Regions from separate parts of the Homo sapiens genome. Here region 2 is linked to region 1. Evidence: promoter capture Hi-C in 16 types of primary human blood cells and fetal thymus (Javierre and others, 2016). All regions are on one chromosome and are shown on one strand. Each heading gives the region's core, a stretch centred on a gene start or on the middle of the fragment in contact. The rest is flanking DNA. Distances are from core to core; before and after follow the strand shown. Region 1 holds the start of SLCO5A1 (solute carrier organic anion transporter family member 5A1). Region 2 holds the start of NCOA2 (nuclear receptor coactivator 2).

Region 1 (7,028 bases), core at 1,558-4,057:
CCCGACTCGGAACTCTTCAGACTGTAGCGCCTTTCAATGGTGGTAATTACGCTGCTCAGGTACCCAGAGACCATTAACGCCTGGATGAAGGTCAGAAAGCACATGCACACCAGGAAGCAACGGGAATCCGTGAGGACCACGTAGAGGCACCTTCTCTCCTGGAGCATGGCCAAGGCGGAGGACACCGAGAAGGTTTTGCTGAGGTCCACCCTGTGGTTACAGTCCCCGAGCCCCGCCGAAGTGGACGGGGCAGAGGGACTGGGGGCCAACGGGTTCGGGCCTTGCTTCAACTCCTGGTGGCCCGAAGAATCCACACAGCCAAAGGCCGGGTTGGCGTCTCCACTAGTGGGACTGAGGCTTGGCCGGCAGGAGGCGCTGCTGAGGACCGGTAAACTCTTAGACCTGAGGGTCTCCGGCTCGCACCTCTCTTGGACAGCTTCTGCAGTGGCCGGCGCCTCCAGCTGCTCTCCCGCCCCGGGCTGCAGTCCAGTGCCTTCGTCCATGGCGCTTAGAATTCAGATTTGATAGCTGATGGCACCCAAGCACTCCGGCACGTTTCATCCACCGGCACGAGGGGCCGAAGCCGGGCCCAGTCAGTCTTGCCCACCTGGGACTGGGGCTGGGGGCGCAGGGCCGCGCAGCAGGGCATCCTCACCAGCTGCGAGGCGCCCAGTGCATCCTGATCACAGACACGGCTTCAAGGCTCCGCAGCCGCGTGCCACAGGGGGCAGGGGTCCGCGCGGTACTGCGATGAGCCCTACTCGGCGTCCCTCTCCGGGCGGTAGCTTGAGGCAGGCGCCTCGCGCGTCCCGGGCTCATCCCCTCCGCCGCCGCCGCCGCCGCCGCCGCTGGGCCCGCGGCCAGGAGCGAGTGCACCCTGCGCCGGGGGTGGGGGGGCACTTAGCGCTGCTGTCCGTACAGCATCCCACCTCGCTGCGCCAGGGGTACCGGGTGTTCGCCGCCTGGGCTCGCGGCACCCTCGGGAGTGAAGCTGCCGACCTGCAAAGCAGAAAGAGGGCGGTCAGCGAAGAGCGGCTGCGGCTTGGGGCTAGCGTCCCAGCGCCCCGGGGACCAGGGTTAGGTGACCCCGAACCGTCCCTAGAGGGACGGAGGAGCTAGTCAGGAGCGGAGCCCCGGAGGACTAGGCAGCAGCCGGCTGCAGTCTCCAGTCCCGGAACAATAAGCAGCAGGCGGTCGGCGGAGACTCTCCCTCATTGTCTGCCGCGGACCTGCCCCCGTCCCGCCCCTTCTGCCTTAAACATTGCGTTTGCTTTTATATGTTAATAATTATCAACCTGGCAGCTCTGACTCAGAGGCAGTGTCTTTTAATCGAGTGAACTAACTGCAGCCTTTCCGTACTCCTACTCCATTACTCAAAATAGAAAATGCCCAAAAGAACAAAGGAAACTTTTTCACAGACACACAATGTATTCCCTGTCCCAATTTTTCTAAAAGGAAAAAAGAAGGTGGGGGTAAACTACGTGTGTAGAAATGTGTGTGCACACTGGTGTGCGTTGGCACGTGTGCGCGACTAGATTTGAATCTGTCTGCTCCACCAGAGACACACATTCAAAGCCGAAGGCAGCAGCAAAAAGGTCAACATGCTTGCCTCTTTATTCCCAACACCAAAAATAACCCCCTGACCGAAAGAACTCTTCAATTACAAATACCAGGGGCATTCGAGGCTGTGGCCCGCACTAAGTCCCAGAGCGCGGTATCAAACGAAACCGAAAATCCGTCTGCTTTGCCGAGAGCTAGGGAAGCCACAACCAAACAAAGAGATCCCGGCACGCTGTCAGAGAGCGCGCGAGGAGCCCACGGAGCCGGCTGGGCGCACGCGGGCCGGCGGGGAGGTGTGCTATTGACTGAGCGCACCCCGCTAGCGTGGGCCTGGGGAGCGTGTGCGCGTGCGCGGCCACACACACACACACACACACACACACACACACACACACACACCGGCGTACTGGAACCTCTCTCGCGATCCCGCACCCAGCTTGAATTCAGCAAGAATCGAAAACAGGTGTGCCCCCGTGGTAAGACCCCGCCCCTAATCTTGGGGACCCCCACTCCACTCCTCCAGCCTGGGGCAAGGACGGGGGGCGGAATATGCACCAGGTGGGAGACAGCCGAGCTTCACTACACTGGGTTTCATTTTGCAGCGCGCCTTTGTGATGCTGCTGAGAAAAGAAAGGAGGAAGGGCAAGGGAGAAAGGCAGAGAGGCTGGGCGGCCAAGGGTGGCCGCTCCGGCATCTCCCTCGGCTGTGCTGGGCCAAACCCGCTCCCAGATTCCCGGCCTGCCAGCCACTCACAATCCCGGGCTTCCCCGCCGCTGCCTTACCCAGGCGCCTTCCCGGGGAACCCCACCAGCCGCTGCGTGAGGAGCCGGGGAATCCCAGCAAACTCTCGCCGCTCGCGGGGGGCGTCCGAACCCCCTGCTTAGGCGAGCGCCCTCACAGCATCGCAGACTCGGATGGACACGCGGATCCCGGCAGGGAGCTCTTGGAGCAGGCGTGGAATCCCAGGGACACCCCCTGCGCGCACATCACATACACGCACATCCTACACACACACACACACACACACACACACACACACACACACACACAGAGCCCGTGGGAAGACAAGACCGCCGGCGACAGCCCGCCGCGCTGCCCGGGCGCTCAAGCCGCCGCTACTCACTAGCGAGTCTGTCAGTCTGTCTGCCTGGCTGAGTAGAGCGGCGGGAGGGGGGCACTGAGCTACGGGAATAGTTGGGAGCCGCGTGAGGAGGCAGCCTCCGTCCAGCCGAAGAGAAATCAGTGAATGAGACTGTGACTCAGGCTGAACTCTTCCCCCCACCCCTCGCCTGTCACCCAAGCCTCTCCTCCGCTCCAAACAGACACACGCGCACAGAGACGCGCCCGGAGAGGAGCAGCCGAGGGCGCAGGCGCGAGGGCAGCCACCCAGCCCAGCCCTCCCACAGCCAGCCACCCCGCTGCCCTTCACCTGCGTGGCTGCGGGGGCCCAAGAGCGCTGAAGCCCCGAGGGAGCCGGTCTCTAGAAAAGTCAGCGGCTGAAGCTGACAGCCCACTCTGAATAAATAAATCATTTCTGATCGTTTATTCCGTGCCTTGGGCACACACCATGTCTCATTCACCATAGTAGATTCTGGGACCAAAGATAAACAAGACAAGATACTTGGTCGGAGGAAACCTCTGGCTTGTGGGGGAAATACTCATGTAAATGGCTTAAAACAACGTGGTACATCTATGCAGCCTGCTACTGGAGTAGCCAATATCCATTAGCCTTCATTTCCACGCAGCAGGAAGAACAGAGGCACGGGGGCATGGTGCTGCCAGTCAATAGGTAGATAAGCTTCCTAGAAGATTGCAGGGATGGGGCAGAGGACCAGACTGCAAGAGTGGCTGAGTAGAAAGGGGCACTACGGGTTTCCTAAGTTGTGTACTGTCAATAATGTGGGGGCAATGACGTTCTGACTTCCTCACCAGAGAGCTGGCTCTGGCAGTGACAGGTAGACAGATGTGAGGCCACACTGCGGGCACAGAAGTGAGTTGGGAGGCAGTCTGAAAGCAAAATGTGATGAGGCATTGGCAGGGGGCATGGAGAGGAGGGAACTGGGCAGCTGATGCAATCTGCAAGAGAAGAAAACCAGCCGAGGTAGGATGACTCCCAAGTTTCTAGCACCAAGTTGGGTGACTACGTGCCTGACAGCCAATAAAAGCACAGGTGGAGAAACATGCTTTAGGAGAAAGATTGTTCTCATCTACATGTGTTGAGTTTGAAATGTTTGGGGGACATCCCAGTGTACGTGTCCCATAAGCCACTGGACACACAGGAGGTTTGGACTAGGAATATTGATCAGTAGTCATCAGCCCAAAGGTGGCATGAGAAAGGATGGAATGAATAGGGAAGATCATCCAAATTGTGAAGAATCTAGGAGGACAGCGTACAGCCAAAGGAAGGAGACTGGAAGCAAGGGTCAGAGAGGTGTGGGACGCATCAGAAAAGCCAAAAGAGCAGACGACTGTAAGAAGGGAAGGGTCAGATGTGTACAGGCTGCAGGGAAGACAAACAGGATGATAACTGAAAAAAAAAAAAAAAAAGAGTATCTGAGGGCACTTGTGACCATTGACAGAGCAGGATAGTGCTCTAATGGAGGAAAGGAGGTTGCTCACAAGTACCAGTGACCATGCTGGCCATTGCTGCCAGGTCGAAGCCCCTCCACTGGCCCTTGGCCTTGCCCAATGAAAGCATTGTCTCCATTTTACAGATGTGATAAGTGTAGAGAGGTTAAGTAACTTTATATAGGCACACAGCTGCTCTGTAGACAATATGAACCAATGTGCTCCAAAAGACTATGTTCTTACTTAACCTCTTAACCCTGACTCTCTACCCTCTCTCCTGCCATTGAATAACATCCTGACTCGTCAATGCACCTTGATTCTTTTGATTATCTCCCTTTAGTCCAACAACCGTCGTATCTACAGCGATCCTTAGAGAACAATTAAGGCCAGTTGACAGTAAAGAACAATCAGTGTGTATTTGAAGTCCATGCTGAGAGAGCATCAATCTTCTGGCAGCTGCAAGACTGACCTATCAACCGAGGCATTTCTTCATTCCCTGCCATTGTCTCCTCCTCTTGAGATCGCCATCAGGCACAGTCACTTTTCTACAAACAGGCAATAGGACTCCCGCTGCCACCCTGCCCAGATTTTAGTCCTCTACTGCTGATAAAGTGAGCAAAGATACGTGGCACTTCCTGAACCCAAATACTCTTCTGAGCTGATTCTAAATCCACACAGAATCAACCTACCTCCTATTACCTCCTTCCAAGCTCTGTGTCCCATTCTCTCATTTCAGTCTCAGCTCCAGACATCAGTGAATTCAATGTGATACATCAGGGGACATCACAGGACTTCCCTACTTGAAAATCAAGCAATCGTGTCCCTGAAACACTCTGTCTTTATTCATGCTCAGTTACCGTAAAGTAGATGCAACTCTAAGAACCTATGGATTTTTTTATTGCCACTAATAGATCATGATTTACAGCAAAATTTTAAAAGGTCCAATTTTACTCACATAAGAAGAAGAAAACATTCAGCAAGAAGCATTTCTTTTGCTTTATCTTTCCCAGTTAAATATGACTTTAAAAAAGACAAAATTTTAAAAGGTCCAATTTTACTCACAAAAGAAGAAGAAAACATTCAGCAAGAAGCATTTCTTTTGCTTTATCTTTCCCAGTTAAATATGACTTTAAAAAAGACAAAATTTTAAAAGGTCCAATTTTACTCACATAGGAAACAAGAAGAAAACATTCAGCAAGAAGCATTTCTTTTGCTTTATCTTTCCCAGTTAAATATGACTTTGAAAAAGAAGAGCACACCTCATTAGCCGTAATTGTCTGATTAATACAAAGAAATGGACTCATATCACGGGGTTCTACTACCCCTATGGTAGTGTTTACTATCCTTATTTCACTCAATAATTACAGTTACTTTAACCAGAATGCCTGCCTTGTTTGGCATTTTGGGAGAGGAAGCATATGACTGTAAACCCTCTTCAAACTTTCAGACTTACGTTTGCTTCTTCTAAGTCCATCGACTTTATACATAAATGACTTCTTTTTAAAAATAAATAAATAAATAAATAAATAAATGATTTCTTTCCTGATCTTCATATAACAAGTATGTAGCCTTTGCAATTTCCAGGGCAGTCTACAGGTTTAAAATCTGGCCGTCCTGGAGAATGGGCAGAAGAAAGCTGAAGGGAGCCTTTTCCCACAGCCCTTCCCTTCCTTCTTAAAGAAGGTTCACTTCAGAGGTCTCCCAGATACAACAAGAACTGAGTTTTTGGTTCAGAATATTTTGTGGGTGCAAAACATAATACATAGTTGCCAGTAACATAATTGAATTAGGTGTTGGTTGTTTAAGAGGAGACACATTGTATCTTTAAGGTAGCCCCTTAATAGAACTTGGCATGTATATCCTTCCTTAGAAGTGAATTTCAGGTTGGGTAAAACCTGAGAAGGAACAGATCTGGCCCTGGGGTACAATGAATGCAGGCAATCACTCCAGCCCTGGTGGCTTGAGGGCCCTGCAAGTGCTAAAGGAGTATAGTGACCAACTGTGTCCAAAGAGACTTAGCACTGCAAGTCCCACACCCCCAAGAAACCACAGTTCCATGAACACCTGGAGGCTTGGCTCCCTATAAAGAAACTGCCACCTCCCTTAATATAATTAAGCCAGATTAGCTGGGTACTGTGGCTCACACCTGTAACCCCAGCACTTTAAGAGGCTGAGATGGGAGGATCCCTTGAGAACACATTTCCACTAAAAAAAAATTTTTTTTAAATAGCCAGGCATGGTGGCATATGCCTGTGGTCTCAGCAACTCAGGAGGCTGAGGCAAAAGGATCACTTAAGCCCAGGAGGTAGAGGCTGCAGTAGGCTGTGATTGCGCGACTGCACTCCAGCCTGGGCAACAGAGCAAGACCCTGTCTCAAAAAATAAACAAACAAACAAAAACCAACAACAACAAAAAATAATTAAGCCAGGCCAGGTGCAGTGGCTCATGCCTGTAATCCCAACACTTTGGGAGGCCGAGGTGGGTGGATCACCTGCGGTCGGGAGTTCAAGGCCAGCCTGACCAACATGGAAAAACCCCATCTCTACTAAAAATACAAAATTAGCTGGGTGTGGTGGCACATGCCTGTAACCCCAGCTACTTGGGAGGCTGAGGCAAGAGAATCACTTGAACTGGGGAGGCGGAGGTTGCAGTGAGCCGAGATCGCACCATTGCACTCCAGCCTGGGTAACAAGAGTGAAACTCCATCTCAACAATAATAATAATAATAATAAAGCCAGATACTCCAAGGCTAGTAATGGAGGGAAACTTCCCTGTGAAGAGGAGACAGTTGTCTTAAAAAAAAAATCATGTTCCCTTGAAAGATGTTTCATAATTACCACCACTGCCACCTTGGCCTGGAAAAGAAAGTGGTCGGATGGGAAGGGGAAGGAAGCAGGTTA
Region 2 (7,028 bases), core at 2,590-5,089, 570 kb after region 1:
CTCACAGATCCTTGATGTTACTGAAGCTTGGAAAGCTTTAATAAGATACAACTATAAATAAAGACAACTAAGGAGCATTACCCCTTTATCCACAGCCCAAATCCCCCTCCAAGCCTTACATTTTATATTTCCAATAAAATGCTCTTCTAACACTAAGCCACTCATCTAAATTATATTTAACCAATGAAGGGTTAAAATCCAAAACATATTAACTACTCAAAACATAATAAATCCGTAATTGGTGAGCTCCTTTTCTACCCTCCTGCTTCAGTATACTGACATCTAAAAGTCAAAGAACTCCTCTGTTTAAGACTGAAATTCCCAGGAGGAAGGAAGCTCAGATCCAGTCTGAGAGCACACAATGGAATCACAGCTGACGATGCACATCTTTTTCTAGATGTCTCCATATGCTTGAGAGGTTTTTTTCCCCCCAAGCCAGCCATTAGGAGACTTGGTTCTCTCTGCCACCAAGAATCTTACCACATTTTCAAGGATTGTTGCAAAGAATTAAGTAAAATAATGTGTTGCTCTTCAGCATACAAAAGAGAGAAGGGCATATGTCAGAGTGCCCATAAGTAACTAAATTAACAAATGGTGGGGGGTTTTGAATGTTGTCAAATTTTGAATGTTGTTTTTAATACTCCTTACCTCTCTGTCAGTCTAAGTGTTTGGTTTACCTTCTCTGTTTTTACTATTTTATTACAAAAAACATCTCAAGAGCCACAGCAAAATGCAATTAATTCTTGTCTACATGCACCCAAAATGATCCTGAATTGGGAATTCTCATGGTAAATTTGAAAACACTATATTACAACAGAACACATTTGTAAGATTTGGCAAATACTGTTCCCTAGAACTGCAGTCCCCTTCGATTCTTTCTTAGCAACCCAAGATTAATAAAAGCTTGACTTATAGAAAAGATACACATTTTCCACATAAGATACCTAAAAGAAAACACTCCCAAAATTAAATTCATGGGATACTTATGACAAAAATCAATGAATTCATTCTTAATCTAACACTTTTCATTCTTTGAGCTCCCAAAGATTCTACAAATTCCAGGTGAGAAAGGGAGCATTACTTCTGTCAGTGTGCCTAACCTCACCAACAAAGAACAGGAACACACACACACATACACACACACACACGCGCACACACACATGCTTTGTAGCAGCTGCTTTCTTTTTAAAAGACTGCTATTCCTGCAGAGCAACCTGTGATCTTTACAGAGAATCAAAGACCTCTGTTCCTAAAAGTCAAGAGTTGAGAAAGTCACTTGACTGAACGCGCAATAAACAGTTAAAACCAAAGATGTCTCCAAACCTTGTATAAACCAGAAAAGTACCCACACACTGTACAATTCAGCAGTGTTTAAGAAAATTAAAATTATTTTTAAGAATCTTTTGTGTGGGAGTAATCTGGCAAACTACATTTTACTCAGACTTTTTCCTGTAGACAAATATTCTTTGATTAGCTTTGCTCCTTAAATACCCACACTTAATGTTTCAATCAGTGATGCTTTAGTTCCCAACTTCATTTTGTTTGCAAAAAGAAAAAAAAATGCATACCATAAACCACAACTTTTTTTTTTAATGACATCCCCAATGCCGAAGTTTCAAGTACACTTTGGGAACTGGAGCTCTAATTAAACAAGAAACCAGTGAAGCCATTATGAACAATGATGCTTTCTACTACCAATAATCAGTTGACGTGATACTGCTCCCATGCCTTCATTCTCAGGGTTCCCTTTCAAATTTCATTGTCCCCATTCTGGCATAGCTGAGTGAAACCGAGATAAGAGGTAAACGGGTAACTTCTGTCTTCTGTGACCCTTAGCATGTAAACCGGACGCTGAGGTCCAGGACATGATCACTACAGCATATGCCATTTTAGAAACCGGCCTCGGTGAGTTACTGCCACATCCTAAAGTGGCTTTAGACTTCGTCGTGTCTAAGACAACGTCTATTTCGGTACGAAAGACATACAGGACCTCGAGTGCCTCGGCAGCCTCTGCGGGTCGGAGCCCCTATAAGTGACACAACCCCAGAAATCAAGGAGCGGGTGACTCGGGGATGGACAAGAGTAGCTGGCTCTCAGCGTCTCCATGACTCCCCCGCCCCGCATGCAACTCTGCTCTAACTGGTCAGGAGAAACCCCGCCCCCTTCCTTCCTCCGGTCCGCACGATTGGCTCACCGACACCCGGCAGGTCAGCTCCCTGCCTTCGATTGGCTCACTGCCCCATCAGTCAGACGCACCGAGATTCGGGTCGGTGGGAGGGGAAGGCGTCGGAGGAGGTGGAGAGGGAGTGGGATTAGAGGACGAGGTGGCGGAGGAAGGTGTTCAGGCTCGGTCTCTGGTTTGGGAAAGTTTCCCCTACCAGTGACGGACCCAGAACGCGGGAGGCCCAGTCCAGCTCCGGGCCAGCGGAAGGGGGCTCCAGTCCCCGATTCCCGCCCCTCGGTCCCGCAGGCCCCGGAAACCACTAGAGGGAGGGGAAGAGGGAGGGGCCATCTAACCAGGGACCGACCCACCCCCGGTCTCGGAAGAGGCGCCTCTGGGACTCCCCCGAGGGGAGGAGGCGGGGAGCGCAGCCGGCAGCGACGACCCCGGCCCCCTCCCCCAGCACCCCCCAGGGGCCCGAGAGGGCCGGGTCCCCGTGCCCGGGGCGTGACCGTCGCGAGGCGGCCACAGGGCCCCTCCCGCTTCCCGCCTGGGGCCCCGAGGGCCTGTCCCTTCAGGGGCGGAGAGAAGGGGGCGAGAAAAGGGGGCGCTGGCGAGCCAACCCGGAACCTCCCGGTCCGCCTCCCGCCCCCGGCCCCGGCCCCAGCGCGCCTCCTGCATACACGCCCGCACCCAGAAAGTTCAGTCAGGGGCGAGCCCGGCTCGGCGCCGCCGGGGCCCGGCCCCCGGCTCCCCGCCCCCACCACGGCCCGGCCTGCTCGGCCCCAGCGCGCCGCCCGCCCCGCCCGCCGCAGCTCCTTCCCGTCCGCCCGCGGTGCTCGGCGCCCCTCGCCCCCCACCCCCGGGGCTGACACGGGCCCGGGCCACCCGCCGGGCCGCGGCTCCCCTTCCCCGCCCCGCGCTGCAGCTCGCCGGCCGCCCCGACACCCCGCTTCACCTTCACACACCCCCAGCACTTCCCGAGTCCTGCCTCCCCTCGCCCGGCTCCCACTCTCCGCTGCAGCCGCTCCGCGCTTCCATTAAAGAATGCACCTTCCCAGGATTCACCTTCTCGGCTCTGCCGCGCTGCCCCCGAGGGGTTAGAGCCTCGGTCTCCGCCGACCCCGCACCGGGCTGGGCAATGGGCACTCGCTCCTCGGGGCGGGGGCCGCGCCCGCACCCCCGGCCGCGCCTCGGCGCTCACCTCTCGCCCGCGCCGCGGGCTGCAGCCTCCGCCCGCCTCGCGCTCCGGGACTCGTCTCCTGAGCTCTCGCAAGGCGCTGGAGCGCCTCCTTTCTCTCCCGGGGACTCCGCGTCTCCCCGTCGCTTCCCGCCCTCCCCACCCCCAAGCCCCAACTCCCCAGCGTCGCTGCGCCTCCGGGATGCAACTCCCGTTTTCCGCGCACTCCGGCGGCGGTCCCCGCACACAAAAACAGCCTCTCGGAGGCGCACGGCTCTGTCGGAGCTCGGCGCAGGAAGGGCAGTCGCGGCCGGGGGTGGGGACGCGGCGCCCCCCGCCTGCCGCCCGCCCCCCGCCCGCCCTCGCGGCCCCGGGGGAAGGCGCGGTTACCGGCTCGGGTCGGTCACGCCGTCAGGTGCCGGCTGCCGTCGGCGCTGACCTTCGCCGCCGAAGCTGTAGCCGAGGCTGCGGCCGCCATGTTCCCGTGTTAATAACTGCTGCCTGGTTGTTTATTTCAATGGAGATCCTCCCCCAACTCCCTCCTCCTCCTCCTCCTCCTCCTCCTCCTCCGCGTCTCCGCACTTGCGGAGAGACAGACAGCGCGAGCTCGCGAGCAGGGGAGGGGGCTCGGGAGCCAGGCCGTCCCTCCCTCTGCCTCCCCGGCAGTGGCCGCCGCCAAGTCCTGTCACCGGGAAAAGGACGGGGCGGAAACTTGCCTCTCGCGCCCCCGAGGAAGGGGCAAAGGTGGACGCAGGGTTGTCCGGGGAGCAGCCCCTGGCCGCGGGGTCCGCAGCATCTCCGTCGGCAGAGTCCTCTGAGAAGGCGGCCCGGGGAGAGGTGAAGAAGAGTAAGGGGACAGGGGACAAAATGGGTGACTGTGGTAGAGGGAGGGTGACCTAGAGGTGACTGGAACTGAAGAGAGAGTCAACAGAGGACTGCATGGGAGGGCAAAGGGCAATGCCAAAAAGAAAACTAGCGACTGGGACGGGCCTGGGCCGCTGAGTTAGAGGCAGTGGGGCCTGGGGGCTGCAGACGGCAGGGACGGTGCCCCAGGACGAAGATCGGGGAGAGCCGAGTTCCAGGGTCGCCAGCAGAGGACCCTCGCGCCCGTCCGGCCGGACCCTTCGGCCAGCACCCTGCACCCCCTCGGGCGCACCTCACCCTACCCAACTCCCGGTCCTGCCGCTGCTCCCCGGAGGCGCCCCGCATCCGTCAAGTCCCCTACGGCTCCAACAGGGAGAGGCTTCTCCCATTGCAGTCCTAGCTCCAGAGGGGATGGAGAGGCGCGACTGTGGGAGCTGGAAGGGGCACCACCCGGCAATTGCGGGATAAAGCAAATGCTGCACACAGAGTGTGAAACTTAACCTGGTTGAGAATTTTCGGCACATCATGAAATCATAAGTTTGTATTGGAAAGTCCATTCTCTAGACATCCGTGAACAAAGTACTGAGGGGACGTAGGAGATTGGCACTGAAAATGCGAGAACCCCCATTTAAGTGTTACTTAGACCAATCTGTTTTACGCTTTGGAAAAGCAAGTTTTTTTTCCAACTTATACGGTAATTAGTTGAAAAAAAAAACTTTTGTTTAATGGCAGTTATCAAACTATGAGAGGAACATATTCCCTGATTTTAATCTTATAATGAGAAAGGTCACTTGCGGTAGACAATAAGAGTGTTTATTGAACACTTACTGTGAATCTGACTGTGCTAGGTGATGTATATATGCTATAGGCCTTAATCCTCAAACCTTCCGAAGTCATTGCCGCTTTTCACTTCACACAAAAAATTGAAGCTTAAAGTAATTTGCCCAGGGTCACAGCCAGTAGTTGGAGAGGATGTGAGCCCAGTTCTGGTGAGCTCCAAAGCCCATGCTTTTAAACATGTCTTCATCCTAAAATTTGTGGGTGTACCGCCAATTTTATTTGGGAAAAGAATAAAAAAAATGTGTGGGGTGTGTGTGTCTGTGTTTGTTTGTGGATAGAAAATGCTTGGAAGCCTATAACAACAAATGTTAGCGCTGGGGAGTGTAAGAAGTGGGTGATGAGGCACTTCCACTTTTTATTTTGCACACCTATCTAATGTTTGAAATGTTTGCATTGACTATGTATTAATGTATATTTTTAAAGGTTTTTTTTTTTTTTTTTTTTTTTTTTTTTTAGCTAGCTGGAATAATAGAATTATGTTCCCAAAGCGTTGAGAGGAAATGGAGAGTTTGTTTATGGCCTATCTTCTGCTAATACCAGTCTGTAGCTTGTCTACAATGGGGTAGTAGTCACCTGAGGTTTGTCACAATTCTGAACTCCCGATTTGCTTTCCTGTCCTCACCCCCAACTGTGAGTTATCAGGAGTTGTGATAATAAATAAATAAATAAATAAAAATTTAAAAAAAAGATTCTCCTTCTTGCTTGCTATCCCTCCCATTTTGGCAGAAGTCCAGAGTCTATCAGTCCTCTGCAATCGTAGATTTCACACTTTTTAAAACTACCCATGATACCTCTGCAAACAAATGACTCCCCCCATTGCATTCCCGTATTACCCAATAAAACGTCTTACGACGGCTGAAGACTTTTTCTTACAAGAAATAAACAAAAACGTCTGACAGCATAGTAGATGAGTTCCATGCCCAAGTGCTACTCAATTGCCTGAGCTTGAATTGAATTGTGTGACTTAAACGCGCTCTGGTACAATCTCTGGGTGCCCTCTGAACTTCAGGCTCTTGCTGTAACAGTAGTCTGTCTTGCACTAGAGTTGTTTATATGTTTGTCTTTCTCTTTCACTAGATTGTAAGTGCAACAGAGCCCAAGACCTAGTCTTGTTCTTGTTTGTACATGCTATAGCACCTAACAAGGAATGTATGATGTTTGTTGTTTCATTGAATTTGTGAAATATAAATAATAGTATCTATTCCGATCCTCATGTCCTCTTCCCCACCTCATCTTCCAATCCCTTGCTCATAAAACATGTTTATAAAAAACATCTTCCATACTTAGAAAGAACTTTGATTCCCATGAGACCTCAGAACAATTGTTTATTAAAACTAGCCATAATTTTTAGTGAATCATCACTATGATAATGTAAAATGAAAAGGTAGAGGAGGCGGTAAATAAGTTGGCTCAATGACACAAATTAAGAAAGGAAGAAGAAGGAAAGAAAAAAGAAGGCAAAGATATAGGAACTAGGTATATTACCAAGAGAGAACAACAAGGAAAAAATATGTGGGTGCAGATCATAAAGGGGAAGGAAATTATTGAAATTTAGTGGAAGTAGAAATAACATACCGTGAATGGATGAGGCAAGGAAACACCAAAAATGTCAGCAGAATCATAAATGCAGCATGGAAAAGTAAAGAAAATGACAAATTATATATTTAACAATATAACCTAGGAATAATCAGAACAATATGACTGCTACAAGACAAGAATTTCTATTTTTGTCTGCCTTTTCTTCCACAGTTTTCAAAGTACTCACTTTTTTCATAAGTAAACTGCATAAAAGTGGGAGATTCTATACTATTTTTGAGTTAATACTACTAGCATACATCATGAGATTAGAGGTAACAGTATGGTAAAAAAGAGCTATAGAATATAAGCAAATAAATATGATGTGAAGTGGTCTCTGTAAGTTACTGTGTGACCTCAAACAAGTCACTAAATATCGCAATTTCCTCATCTGTGTAATTGTTGCAA

What was found. The method cuts DNA at HindIII sites, captures the fragments that hold promoters and counts their contacts. A CHiCAGO score of 5 or more calls a contact.
Region 2: the fragment with the promoter of NCOA2 here is called in contact with the fragment with the promoter of SLCO5A1 in region 1 in 3 of 17 cell types (total B cells, naive B cells and neutrophils); the score reaches 24.4 in total B cells.

What each region holds. Positions count from the first base shown.
Region 1 is chr8:69,832,171-69,839,198 of GRCh38, forward strand. It overlaps SLCO5A1 (solute carrier organic anion transporter family member 5A1), which reads right to left and starts at 2,808. Exons shown (of 10, transcript NM_030958.3): 1 at 2,684-2,808; 2 at 1-999. The coding sequence starts at 503. It overlaps SLCO5A1-AS1 (SLCO5A1 antisense RNA 1), which reads left to right and starts at 1,942. Exons shown (of 4, transcript NR_186568.1): 1 at 1,942-2,023. RefSeq lists silencers at 784-873, 2,964-3,073 and enhancers at 1,064-1,133, 2,564-2,643. The HindIII fragment of the contact is 8,160 bases long and covers 1-3,356 here.
Region 2 is chr8:70,399,969-70,406,996 of GRCh38, forward strand. It overlaps NCOA2 (nuclear receptor coactivator 2), which reads right to left and starts at 3,840. Exons shown (of 23, transcript NM_006540.4): 1 at 3,732-3,840. RefSeq lists silencers at 2,437-3,096, 3,127-3,416, 3,457-3,766, 4,457-4,616 and an enhancer at 4,237-4,356. The HindIII fragment of the contact is 4,231 bases long and covers 902-5,132 here.